Regions from separate parts of the Homo sapiens genome. Here region 1 is linked to region 2. Evidence: promoter capture Hi-C in human tissues and cell types (Jung and others, 2019). All regions are on one chromosome and are shown on one strand. The core of a region is centred on a gene start or on the middle of the fragment in contact, and the rest is flanking DNA. Distances in the headings are between cores, read along the strand shown. Region 1 overlaps LOC105374910 (a long non-coding RNA gene). Region 2 holds the start of BMP6 (bone morphogenetic protein 6).

Evidence for each region. The method cuts DNA at HindIII sites, captures the fragments that hold promoters and counts their contacts. A contact is called where the count stands out against the background at its distance.
Region 1: a fragment that was not itself captured here is called in contact with the fragment with the promoter of BMP6 in region 2 in 1 of the 25 tissues and cell types used here (thymus).

What each region holds. Positions count from the first base shown.
Region 1 is chr6:8,238,143-8,244,447 of GRCh38, forward strand. LOC105374910 (a long non-coding RNA gene) reads left to right here. Exons shown (of 4, transcript XR_001743950.2): 3 at 789-874. Among named protein-coding and RNA genes, the nearest start is that of EEF1E1-BLOC1S5, 140 kb to the left of the region's middle. The HindIII fragment of the contact is 5,550 bases long and covers 1-4,132 here.
Region 2 is chr6:7,722,154-7,728,498 of GRCh38, forward strand. It overlaps BMP6 (bone morphogenetic protein 6), which reads left to right and starts at 3,946. Exons shown (of 7, transcript NM_001718.6): 1 at 3,946-5,466. The coding sequence starts at 4,803. RefSeq lists an enhancer at 1,122-1,181. The HindIII fragment of the contact is 10,073 bases long and covers 2,332-6,345 here.

The DNA.
Region 1 (6,305 bases), core at 108-2,607, 510 kb after region 2:
TATTGAAATAAGGTGAAATAAAAATTGCTGCTCTTTTTCTAGGACAAAAATAATCAAGTAGACCATGAATTGGGAAATTCGAAAGCCCTCTTACTAACTCTCACACTTTTTTAAATCTACCAAATTCTGTGTTTAAAAAGTTGCCATGATTGAAGTGTTATTAGAGTAATAATAATTGAAGTTAAATACATACCTACAGAATGTACTGTCAAATGCAATTACATAGTGGTGCCGTGTTCCTCTCCGGTTGAGGAATAGGTTCTTTCTCCTGCCCTTTATTAAAGTTTAAAGGGAGTGCTGACTTGGTGCTAGGAAAAGGGGTGGGGAATGAGCTTTCTTGCAGCTGACCTTCAGGAGCGGCTGTGTTGCCTGCAGCACTGCTCTTAAACATGCCAGAATGCAGTAATGTCTGAGAAGGAATGTTAAAACCAAACCAAAAAACCCAAACCAAAAAACCCTCATCTCCAAATCAGCCCCCAAATTCATCTCCCAAGATCTGTTTTTGACGTGTCTTGATCATCATTCTCCTGGCAGCTAAAATCCTAAGCCACATGTCAGTGCGTTCATCAAAAAGAGGCTTGACTGTATTTTCTTCATATTGTTTCAGTGATAGATTCTAATCACCAGAACTTAAAAACCTGTTCCCACAATCTTTTGACAAGTCAAAATTTCTCCATTTCAGCCTTTAGCATGATAAAAAAAAATCAGAAACCTCCGTATGTATTGAAATTCTCACTGCTGCCGAGTATCCGCCTTTTCTCTGAAGATCATGTCTTCTTTTTGACTAGGTTGAAGACCTGAAAACTGTGACCCCTGTTGCCTAGCAACTGAGAAGCTCAGCCTCAACTCCGGGTGGGGGAGATGATGGAGAAAGGTCAGTGAAAGAGGCGGGCCTGTCCTTATCAATATGCCACTGTGGCAGCGACTTTTATTTCTTTAGAGTAATATATCATAATAAGTTTTGTAGGTCTTTATACTGTGGTTCTCCCTTTTGAATAAAAGCATAACTAAGACTTGAGGGGATGTCTGATATAACAGAAAATGTAACCATAAAAAAAAAACCCAGAATAGAAATGATCTGACTGCTGAGTACCCTGCCGAGCTGCCTGAGGCAGTTACACATTTCCATTGAGTTATTTTATGATCAGGCCAGTATGTTATTGAAATATTATCTCTTTAGCCTTTCTCATTCTGATAAGAAATGACAGGCTCTCAGAACAGCAATACATACAGAGTACAAAATATGGAGCTGTGGACAAAATTCAGTCGGGGTGAAGAACATTGGCTTTGGAGAATTTCCATGAAAACCAATTATCCTTGGGTTGTATTTTCAAATAGGGCATGGTACACACTCTAATGTCCACTTTAATTGTGATGAGAATTTGCAGCCTCCGTCGATGATTACATTTAGCCCAATTACTGAACAACATTCAAGAAAGATTGCATTGTTTTTAGTAACCTCACTTAAGATGCAATTTCTTTAGCAAATAATGAAATGCTGTAATGTTTCAGAAGCACAGGTAAGAGTTGCAATCTGGATTTGAAGGGTCACTCAGGAAAAAAGGGGAAGGAGATGAAACAAAGAATGTAACATTTCAAGTTAAGTCTTCTGAAAGTGGTCTGATTTAGAACTATTTTGGAAACGACACGCAATATATACAGCTTTGTTAGCTTATTTATCAACATATCGCTGGAGGATCCTGATCTTATTATTGTCTACTCCTTGCTTCTTTATTGTTACTTAATATGTAAGCCATTTCACATAAATAAAATCGATATGTATATATTTATAGATACGTAAGGGAGACACATGGTGTCTCGGGCTGGGTGTCAGGAAACCTGCGATTTATTCTCCAATCTGCATGTGACTAGCTGTGTAACCTTTGGGCAAGCTACAACTTCTCAGGGTCTCAGCATTATCCCCTGTAGAATGAAGAACTTGAACTACATAATTTCCGCCATCGTTCCCTATGATTCTTTTCACTCCCTATCAGCTACATTTTTCCCTCGGTTCTTTCTTCTGTTGCCCAGATATAGATAATCACATTTCTTCTTATGCAAAGTTTGATATCCATGTGATTTTGTATAATCGCCACTTTGTGTGTCTTTGAGACTTTTTGACCTTCTGACAAGTGACTTGTAAGAGGATATAAATTTAGGTGTTCCCAATTATTAGCATTGTTTTCCGTTTTTATAAATTGACCTTCCACAAATCTGAAGTTAGCGTTTTCTTCTGTTCAGCCCAGTCTCCGTGAACTTACGGGATTCATGACTGTTTTGCTTTTCTCCTCCCTTCTTCTTCTTTTTTTTTTAGATAGCATTAATGTAGAAGCAGATGCTGTCTCTCTCTTCACAAATGCTGCACAGTGAATCATCGTAGCCTCTCTGTAAAACTTTAACTTAATGGAGTCCTGGCATTTCTGATGAGACGAGGAACTTAATTTCATAGAACAACCTATTGGACAAGCTGTTCTTGGACATTCCCGTCTCAACTAAATGTTAAAAGTATTAAAATTCACATTAGCACCAGAGGAAATTTTGCATGGGTAATCCTTTAATACAGTGTTTTATGGCTCTATTAGCTGCACAGCAGCTGGTGACATGATGAATTTAATCCATTAAAAAATTCACTAAGAGGTTTGAAAGTCAGCTTTTTAAAACATTATGTTGCTGCAAGGAAAGAGAACTTCTCCTCGGGGCCAGAAACAGGGTGGCTTCACACTGAGGCAGGTACAGGAAACACACCTGCACGCAAAACTTTCACATGCTTGGATGTTTGCACTTAGAGGAGAGCTAGAATGATAGGTGAGAATTCAGGACACAGGCTGAGAAGGGGCTGACACAGTGCAACAATTCTGACTCAATCTCCTACTTGTTTCTTGCTTTTAAGAGAAGGTTTAATATAGATATTAAATGATGGTGTTATTTTTGAACGTGCTAACATGTTTTCTTGTGCTGATGTATGTCTTCGTGTAAAATCAGAAATGCTTCAAGCCTTTAATTAGAGACCTAATTATTTATCTTGAGAGAATTTAAGTAAGAAAATGTTTTCCACCCTTGATATAAGTAAGCTTCTTTGCAAAGTTAACTGTGTGGAAAGGTTTTGGCCTGAGGAATTTGAGGTCTTACTTCAAAGAAATGCTGTAGATTTGAATGTCTATAGGGCATTGGAATGGATCCTGGGCACAGGATGTCTAAGTTGCACCTTGGATGGCTTAGTGAGTAAGGACCAGTCCAGGAATAGACTAATGGTTTTAACCAGTAGGCTTTGAATTCTTACACTGATCTTTCCAAATAAGACTGTCTCAAAAAAAAAAAAAATGTACCTTGTCCAGCCCTAACAGATTTTGCAAGCTGCTAGGTAGGATTATTGTTCTCAAAGTCATGAGTTTGGTAAAAGGAGAATTAGTTTGTAACGAATATGTATTTCTGAGCAGAGGCAGTAACAGGTCACCTTGGATCAAATTGCCCAACATCCACAAATGAGTTTGTCACTGTATTCAACCCTCATGAGTGAAAAAATAGGCAGCTTAACTTAGCAGTGGTTTTTACCTAAACAACTCATTTATGTAATTCCCATGTTCATGTGAAGTCACTTATGTTATATCCTCACTTAGCATAACTTGATGTAGAAGGGGAATTGCTATTTCTTGTGGTGCAGCTATTATGGATCGTAAGAGCAGAAATGAAATCCACTTCATCTGCCTCGCAGGAGATCTGTAATGGTCCCGAAAGTGTAAATAAACCACCAGGTTGAAAATGGAAACAGCCATTGTATTCTTGAGTATTAAAAATTGGTTTATTTTTCTTCCAACATGAGAGGCTTCATTTTTCTAGAATTGCTACCTGGCTATGAAAGGTCCTTCCCTCTGTCCCATGGAAGGGGACATGAACATTCTAAAATTATTTTCCATAATCTCCCCCACCAAAAATGCTACCAATAGTTTGCCTTTTAATGGAAAATTTGATGTATTAGAAAACAGTTGAACTTGAGAGCTAAGAGCTGTTAGCTTGAGTGAAATCTGGTTTGATAATATCTCACCCTGTGTTTGAGGCTGATTGATCTAGATGCACCTCCTTGCCCCCTGTGCTTTTACAAAGACCCCTTTCATGGGTGTGCAGTAATGTGTTTCTTTTTCCAATCTACATGGTTCCTTGTGACTGAGCCTGTTGTAAGAAGGGTTATGCAGTCTGAGTGCCCGACTAATGATACTGCCTTCTGTAAAAAAAAAAAAAAAAAGAAAAAAAGAAACACAAACTCCATAACAATGATTTCCTTATTGAAAAAAAATGCATAACCAAAATCCAGTCAATAGTGTCATCATAACCGTACACGCCATTTCCATATACACAGTATTTTCTTAAGCAAGAAGGATTGTGGTTGACATTTTCGATTTTATAGTAAAGCATCAGACAAATGTAAAATAATGACATCTTTTTGACAAGCGTAGGTATTTTGATAGCATTTAGTACGGTACTTCCATTCCCAAAGAATCTGTAAATGAGAGCAATTTGTGTTTCTCCATGGTTTGATTGATTCCAGTGATTCTTGAATTGCCACTACAGGATAGTACAGGGTGGGCCATGCTGGGTTACTTGAGGCGTAATTAGCTAATCCTAGCATCCAAGAAAAACCCCTTAGCCACTTCAACTTCTTCTCTGCTTTCTCCTCCTCGCAGTGCAGTGCTGGGGAATGTTTGACACCGTCCTCCTCTCTCATATATGTGAACATTGATAGCCTCTGCGAACTGGCCCCACAGTTGTCAATTTTTTGACTGTGGGCTGAGACCCATTAGCTCAAATGCTTACTAGTGCCCAATCCAAATTTGTACACATCAGTTATTTTTAAAATAGCTCAAACAAGCAAATTTTGAAGCCATTTAGAAACTGCCTGATTTGCATACCTGCATAACCTCACCCAACAGCTGTCATCTATTGATAATACACGGCCTTCCCATGATAAAATCCCAAGCTGCTATTCTTCCCAATGAGCCCTCTGAGCTCCCTGACCCAGAGACTGCTCTCTGTGCTGCTGTGCCACATCACTAGACATCTGAGCCCCTCTTCTCCCCTCTTCTCCTGGAGAGTTGCCTATGCTCCCCCATTCTGAGCAGCGGCCTCTGCTTTTTAGCCTCTGAACAGACTTCTTCTATGAGGGACTTTCTCCCCCATGCAACCCTGTCCAAGCACCAAGCTTGTTATGTGTTGCTGTTTCTTAATCACTCCCAAATCCCTCAAACCCCTGACATCCTTCTCCCTCCTCCTCTTTCCCATTTCTTCACAATAAGCAAAACAACCTTGAGGGCTATACGCTTACAGGAGGAGGAGGAGAAAATAGAAGAGGAATATGGAAATTGGGAAAAGACTGCCAGTATATATACAGACTTGACTATTGTGAGACAAAGTAACCAATATAAGAAGCCACGCTTGCTCATTTCTGCTTGAACCCCCAACTCTGATGAAATGCAGCTCTCTGGAAGAATGCCTTGAAGACAAAACAGAATAGAGCACACAGCCTCCCCACGTCTCTTGCCTGAGTCATTACATTCCTTAAAAGATAAATGACCTCGCCTTGCCTTTTCCTACACATAAGATAACATCTGACAGGGTTAGTGATTATGCATCCACAATCTATAACCAAATGTACTTTAGTAATCTATAACCAGATGTACTCTTACACCCAAACTTTCATGAGATTTGCACTTACTGAATCTTCACCACCTGTATATAAACTGTGAGTTGTAGTACTGTGTTGGAGCAGTCTGACAGAACTGCCCCCAAGCTGTAGGCCTCCATCTATAGTTTTCAGTGAGGCTTCTAAATAAAACTTACTGTCATTTTTTCAATGGTCCTGGGTCCTCTGCTGAGCAACTGACATAGGGAAGGCACATCTGAGTAAGACAAGGGAGAGCACAGGTACACTTGAAAAAGAAAAGGAAACAGATGTAGTGACTGCTCTTCCTGACCCATGTTCACATAGCTATCTATGAATTGGTTTCTTCCTCTGTTCCCCGTCTGCTAACATTCATTCACTTATTCTTTTTTTTTTTTTTTTTTTTTTTTGACGCAGGGTCTTCCTCTGTCTCCCAGGCTGAAGTACAGCAGTGTGATCATAGCTCACTTCAGCCTCCACCTCCTGGGCTCAAGTGATCCTTCTGCCTCAGCCTCCCAAGTAGCTAGCATTACAGGCATGTGCCACCATGCCTGGCTAATGTTTCTTAAAAAATTTCTGTACATAGAGGGTCTCGCCATGTTGCACAGGCTGGTCTCGAACTCCTGGTCTCAAGCGATCCTCTTGCCTTGAC
Region 2 (6,345 bases), core at 2,696-5,195:
GTCCTTATGCTAATAGTAAAGATAAAAAGTTGGTCTTTGGAGTGGAACGTCTCAATAATTCAAGGAGGCTAGACCTCAGTCTTTTAAACATGACAGCTACACAGTTTACAAGATTTTTTTTTTTTTTTTTTGAGACAGGGTCTTGCTGTCACCCAGGCTGGAGTGCAGTGGTGTGATCTGGTGATCTGGGCTCACTGTAACCTCCACCTCCCTGGCTCAAGCGATCCTCCCACCTCAACCTCCTGAGGAGCTGGAACTACAGGCGTGCACCACCACACCCGGCTAATTTTTGTATTTTTTTTTTTTTTTTTTTTTTGTAGAAACAAGGTCTTACTAGGTTGCCCAGCCTGATCTCGAGCTCCTGGGCTCAAGTGATCTGCCTGCCTCAGCCTCTCAAAGTGTTGCTATTACATACCTGGCCAAGATATTTTTATTAAGTTAATTCTAAAAGCAGCAACTTACATCTTCAGGAAATGCAGTTGAAAGGGACCAATGTAAAATTTAATATAAAATCCAAGACTGAAGTTGCAGTTTATTGCTAATAAGGTAATATAGAATATGTGTTTAATATGTCAAATTAATAAACAGCATGTTTACAAAATAGAAGCTATTTGGTCAAGTGTGTTATAAATGTATAACAGAAACCCTCAGAATATATAAGGAACAAGGACAACTACAGGTTTAAAGGATTTGTTGCGTGAATTACATGGTGCCTTAATAAACACTTGGAGACAGAATTCCCGTCCTATTCCCACTATCACTGGAAGTATGGGATGAACCTGTGCTTTCTGGTGAGGGCTCCTCATTTCTTCATTAAGTGGGGCAGGGAGATGGGACAGGCAACGTATTGCCAGAAAACTGAAGGCCATCTGCATGAAATGTCAGCCAAGCAACCAGATGTTTGATTGGATTGGCTCCCACATCCGGCTTCTTGATCGAATTCCTCCTCTTTCCACCCAGATGTTTTAGAAACACAGAGAACTTCATGAAGCTTGTTCCGGGCCCGCAGAGGAAGGGGCGGTAATATTTTGGTGTCCTGCAGGGGGCGAAGTTACCTCTAATTTTATCAAGTCGGTTCATACATTCCAGCGGACTTCAAAGCCCAGATCTGCTCCTGTCCCTCCAACTCCACCCACCCCATGCCTCCTCCTCTTGAATCACATGTGGACGTTGTCTAGCTCCCTGTCCTGAGGCTTCCAGGGGAGCACTCGGGCTGTCTAATGGGGAAGGGTCCCAGAAGCAGGGAGTAGACAAGGTGGGGGTTAGGGGATTTTTATCCACCTAGAGGTCCAACTGGCTTGGAGAAAGAGTAGTCCCAATTTCAAGGTTATTAAAATCCTAGAACTGTATCTCTTCCTGTCCCCTTTGTCCCAATGGATACAAGGGCTTGCCTGCATGTGTCCCGCAAACATGATGTGCACATGTTGGGAGCCATAGTGGACAGAAGAGGAGCACATCCTCAGTTGGATGTCACTGTCCTTATGATCATTGTAATGTCTCACTGCACAGTTTTTTTAGGAGCTTCTTCTGGCTCTTAAGGGAGATGTGCGTTCTCATGTTCATCACCTGGAGGTACTCTCGACACCTCCTCATTCTAGCCCCATTCGACAGAAACTGAGAATCCATCTTGGTGGAGTGAGGAGCCTGCAACAGACCTGAATCAGAGTTGCTGCTCAGATGTTTAGTTGATAGTCACTTTAGACTCATGTCACATGAACCCATCTACTTCTTAGTGTCTAAGGAAAGGGAGAGATGGCGTGCGTGTGTGTGCATGTGTGTGTGTGTCTTCTGCACTAGGTCCACCCCATAGATGCATACACAAGTTGAGTATCCCTTATCCAAAGTGCTTGGGACCAGAAGTATTTCAAATTTCAGATTTTTAGATTTTGGAATATTTGCATATACATAATGAGATACCTTAGGGATGGGATCCAAGTCTAAACATGAAATTCATTTATGTTTCGTATATATCTCATATACATAGTCTGAAGGTAATTTAATACAATATTTCAAATGATTTTGTGGATGAAAATTTTGACTGTGTTTTGACCATGTCCCATCCTATGAGGTCAGGTGTGGAATTTTCCATCTGAGGCATCATGTCAGCTCTCAGAAATCTTTAGATTTTGGAGCATTTTGGATGTCAGATTTTTGGGTTAGGGATGCTCAACCTCTACAATAGGTGGGTCACCCCTCGATTTTGTGTTTTAAATGACATAGCCCCACCAAGGTGCCCTCATCCATGCTTGAAATGTTGAGTTTCCTGTGTCTTCCCCACTGCCCTCGTAGGTAGAAAGTCTTTTACTCTGCCTGCATCTCACCAGAAGTCTTATGAGGAAGGTGCAACTAGGTTTAAAAAAGGAGGCTCTTGGCAGGAAGCCTAGGTGTATTTGCTGGAATTTCAGATCTTCTGAGCAGAGCTCTTGGCTGCTGTGGGGCACTGCAGTGAATTTATGTCCCTAACATGTTCCCTACAGAAAAAAGAAGTGACAGGGCTCTTGAATTCTGAGGGTCCGGGCATCCCAGACAAAGTATCGTATTATCTTTTCGGATGGAAGAAATCCCTGTAGAGATGGTTAAAGACTGGCATTCACATAAGTTTTGTGCCCTGAAATTCATAGCTATCAGATATTTGTAGAAATAAAGACTCTTCTAAATGACCACTTGTGTCTGGGCCAAGGCAGAACTAGAAAGAAGGACTCAGTGGGTAGTTGGAGTCAGTGGTGGTCTCTATTTACCCATGAGAAATAGATTCTTGGAAATAGGATAGGAATGCTTATAAGATTTGGACCAACAGAAAGCCTATGATCTCATAAATTCATGAATCCCACAGTCTATAATCTATTTGACTTCACTCTCAAATGCCTAGGACCATTTGGACTAAGGCTGGCAAGTCAGAAAATTGCAGTTTTTATTTTCAACTCCACACAATTTTCACCAAGTAAAAAACCTTCATGTTTTACGTGAATTTGCTTCTACGATCCATAGATGACTGGATGTTCTCGGGCGGGGTAAAGGCAAATGAATTTGTGTCCTCATTGGCAAATGGTGTTGGTGGTGGTGTTATCTTGTCTAAAATCCACAGGAACCTGTGTTTCAGGACCCTGTCTATTGTCCTGACCATTCAGAATGCATGCCAAGCCCCTGCTCTTCCTGGAGTTATCTTTATCACCTCTCCTCAAGTTTTATCTTGCACCATATAAGTCACATTGTATTTCAATATTAAAATGCAACATTAATAGATAAGCTGGAGAATCAAGACATTTCCAAGAAGACAGGGGACGCCTTTTCTAATATATCGTCTGATTACACCCTCTTTCTTTTGGGTGCTAGCTTAAGAAGCCAAACCAAAGCACAAATGAACAGAGAAGTCAACACATCCGACCCCAAACCCTCAGGACGCTGGCTTGGGTTACATGTGGCCCTCTCTGTGGTCAGTTTGTGAGTAGCCTCCCCGGAGGGTGTGTCCCAACTTCCAGCAGCTGCCGTGGAAAGCCACGTGTCCGCTAAACGCCTACATTACATCAATAAGAGAAACTAAGGAAGGGATGGAAAAGCTATCATTTTTCTTTTCTTCCTCAGTTCTGGCAGTATAGTGATTTAATCGCTGTTATTATTTTTATTTAGTTAAAGCATCAACTTAGGCCTTTTAAATGATGGTAAAAGAGAAAGCTTCAGATCGGGGTATTGGTCAGATCATTCTTACTAGCGATGACCTCTTCGCCTTTGGCACCTCGCGGCTCTTCGCATGCCTCCAAGAATTCCCGGGTCTTGAAACCTACGCGCGGCGGAGGCGACGCCTCTCGGGAGAGGGAGGGTGAAAGAAGGGGCGGGGCTATTTAAATAGCCCGCGAGCTTCGCGTCCCCATTGGCTGCCAGCCTGTCGGTTACCGCGGGGCGGGGAGTCCCGGGGCTGGAGTGAGGTACCTGAGCCGGGCGCGCAGCAGAAAGCCCACGTTGGCCGCTGCGGGGAGCGCGGCGTGGAGAGGCGGGAGACCGAATTCCGGCGCCGCCGCCGCGGCCGCTGCTCGGTGCACTAGCCCCCTTCCTTCCCATCCTTTCTGCGAGCGGGTTTGCTGGGCAGCCGGGCGACCGCCGAACGGAAAGCAAGATCCTCGCCGCCTCCGCTTGAGGAGGCGTGCGGCGCGCGGAGATTTTGAGTGGGAGCGACGGTGCCCGAGAGCTCAGGGGCGCGGAGTTCGTGAGCGAGAAGGAAGTTAAACCTCGCGGAATAGACTGGCATTTCGGGACGCCTTGTCGCCGCAGCCTGGGCCCTGCAACGGGGTAAACTTCATGGTGGCCCTGCGATCTGGGGAGGGGCGTGCGCCACGGTGATGCCGGGCATCTCCCGCAGCTCGTGAGCGGCCCCGCTCCCCGCTGCCCCGGGTCCCACTCAGTCGCCAGGGAGAGCGCGGGGCAGCGCACGTGTGCGGCCAGCGAGGCCCAGAGTGACCGCGCCGCGACTCGCAGGAGCCAGGGCGCAGGCTGCAGTGCAGCCCGGACTCAGACGCACCTGGCCTGGACCGCGCGCCTCTAGAGACCTGCGCGAGGCTGTGAGGCTCCCCTTCCTCCCCTCCAAGCGGTTCTCCTGGTGATCGCCCCTTCGCCACCTCTCTAGCCTGGGCAACTGGGGGCGCCCCGGACGACCATGAGAGATAAGGACTGAGGGCCAGGAAGGGGAAGCGAGCCCGCCGAGAGGTGGCGGGGACTGCTCACGCCAAGGGCCACAGCGGCCGCGCTCCGGCCTCGCTCCGCCGCTCCACGCCTCGCGGGATCCGCGGGGGCAGCCCGGCCGGGCGGGGATGCCGGGGCTGGGGCGGAGGGCGCAGTGGCTGTGCTGGTGGTGGGGGCTGCTGTGCAGCTGCTGCGGGCCCCCGCCGCTGCGGCCGCCCTTGCCCGCTGCCGCGGCCGCCGCCGCCGGGGGGCAGCTGCTGGGGGACGGCGGGAGCCCCGGCCGCACGGAGCAGCCGCCGCCGTCGCCGCAGTCCTCCTCGGGCTTCCTGTACCGGCGGCTCAAGACGCAGGAGAAGCGGGAGATGCAGAAGGAGATCTTGTCGGTGCTGGGGCTCCCGCACCGGCCCCGGCCCCTGCACGGCCTCCAACAGCCGCAGCCCCCGGCGCTCCGGCAGCAGGAGGAGCAGCAGCAGCAGCAGCAGCTGCCTCGCGGAGAGCCCCCTCCCGGGCGACTGAAGTCCGCGCCCCTCTTCATGCTGGATCTGTACAACGCCCTGTCCGCCGACAACGACGAGGACGGGGCGTCGGAGGGGGAGAGGCAGCAGTCCTGGCCCCACGAAGCAGCCAGCTCGTCCCAGCGTCGGCAGCCGCCCCCGGGCGCCGCGCACCCGCTCAACCGCAAGAGCCTTCTGGCCCCCGGATCTGGCAGCGGCGGCGCGTCCCCACTGACCAGCGCGCAGGACAGCGCCTTCCTCAACGACGCGGACATGGTCATGAGCTTTGTGAACCTGGGTAAGGATTTGGGGTAACGTAATGACGAGAACATTTCCCCCTTTTCAGTGTCCCGGGCCCAGGGGATGGAGTGAGGGGGTGGAGGAGCTCCCGGCGCGCGGGTCCCGCCTGGTGCGCCAGAGAACGCGGGGACAGGCAGGCTGTGCTCCCGCCACCTGCGCGGCGGTGGGCGGCACATGCGCTCCCCCGCGCCGCGGGCAGGGCTGCGCGCCGAGGCCCCCAGAGGCGGCTGGCCGGCCGGGCCGCGGGGCTCCGGGAGCGCTGTCCCCAGCGGGCGTGTATTTGCGGACTCCCTGAGCACGTTCCGCGCTTTTTTTCACTTCTGCCCAGCTCTGGCCAGGTTAACTCAACTGCAGCAGGAGAGTCCAGCCCGAGTGTGGCCATCCTGGGAAGAGGGCTCTTCAGTACGATTTTCCCCTCTAAACTGCCGCCTTTTGCCCCCTAACTTGGAGTGCAGTTTTCCCACCGAGACTTTTAGGGAATCCGACAGCGGCTGGGAACTTTGAAAACTTGGCATGAGTATGTTTAGAGGTATCCACGGCACTAGGGGAGGTTGCAGAGGGAAGTCCCAAAAGGACCGCGGAAGGCGCTCGGATCCCGGCCGGGCGGGGCTCGCTTCTGTTTGGGGCGGGATGAAAGCTCAACTGGGGTAATCCATCCTGTGCCCCGGCTCACATGCCCTTGGCCATTGTCCCCAAAGGCTGAACCTTTGATCAATGCAGCCCAAGCTGCACGGGCAGAGAAAGGGTGCGGGGTAGGGGCCGGGGTTGGGCGCTGAGCTCCTCTGAACCGGTTGCCAGGCAACAGAATGGAAATTCACGGGCGGCTAAATGGAGCTCCGCCACAAATGTTCTGTGGCAAACCCGGACCCAGTCACAT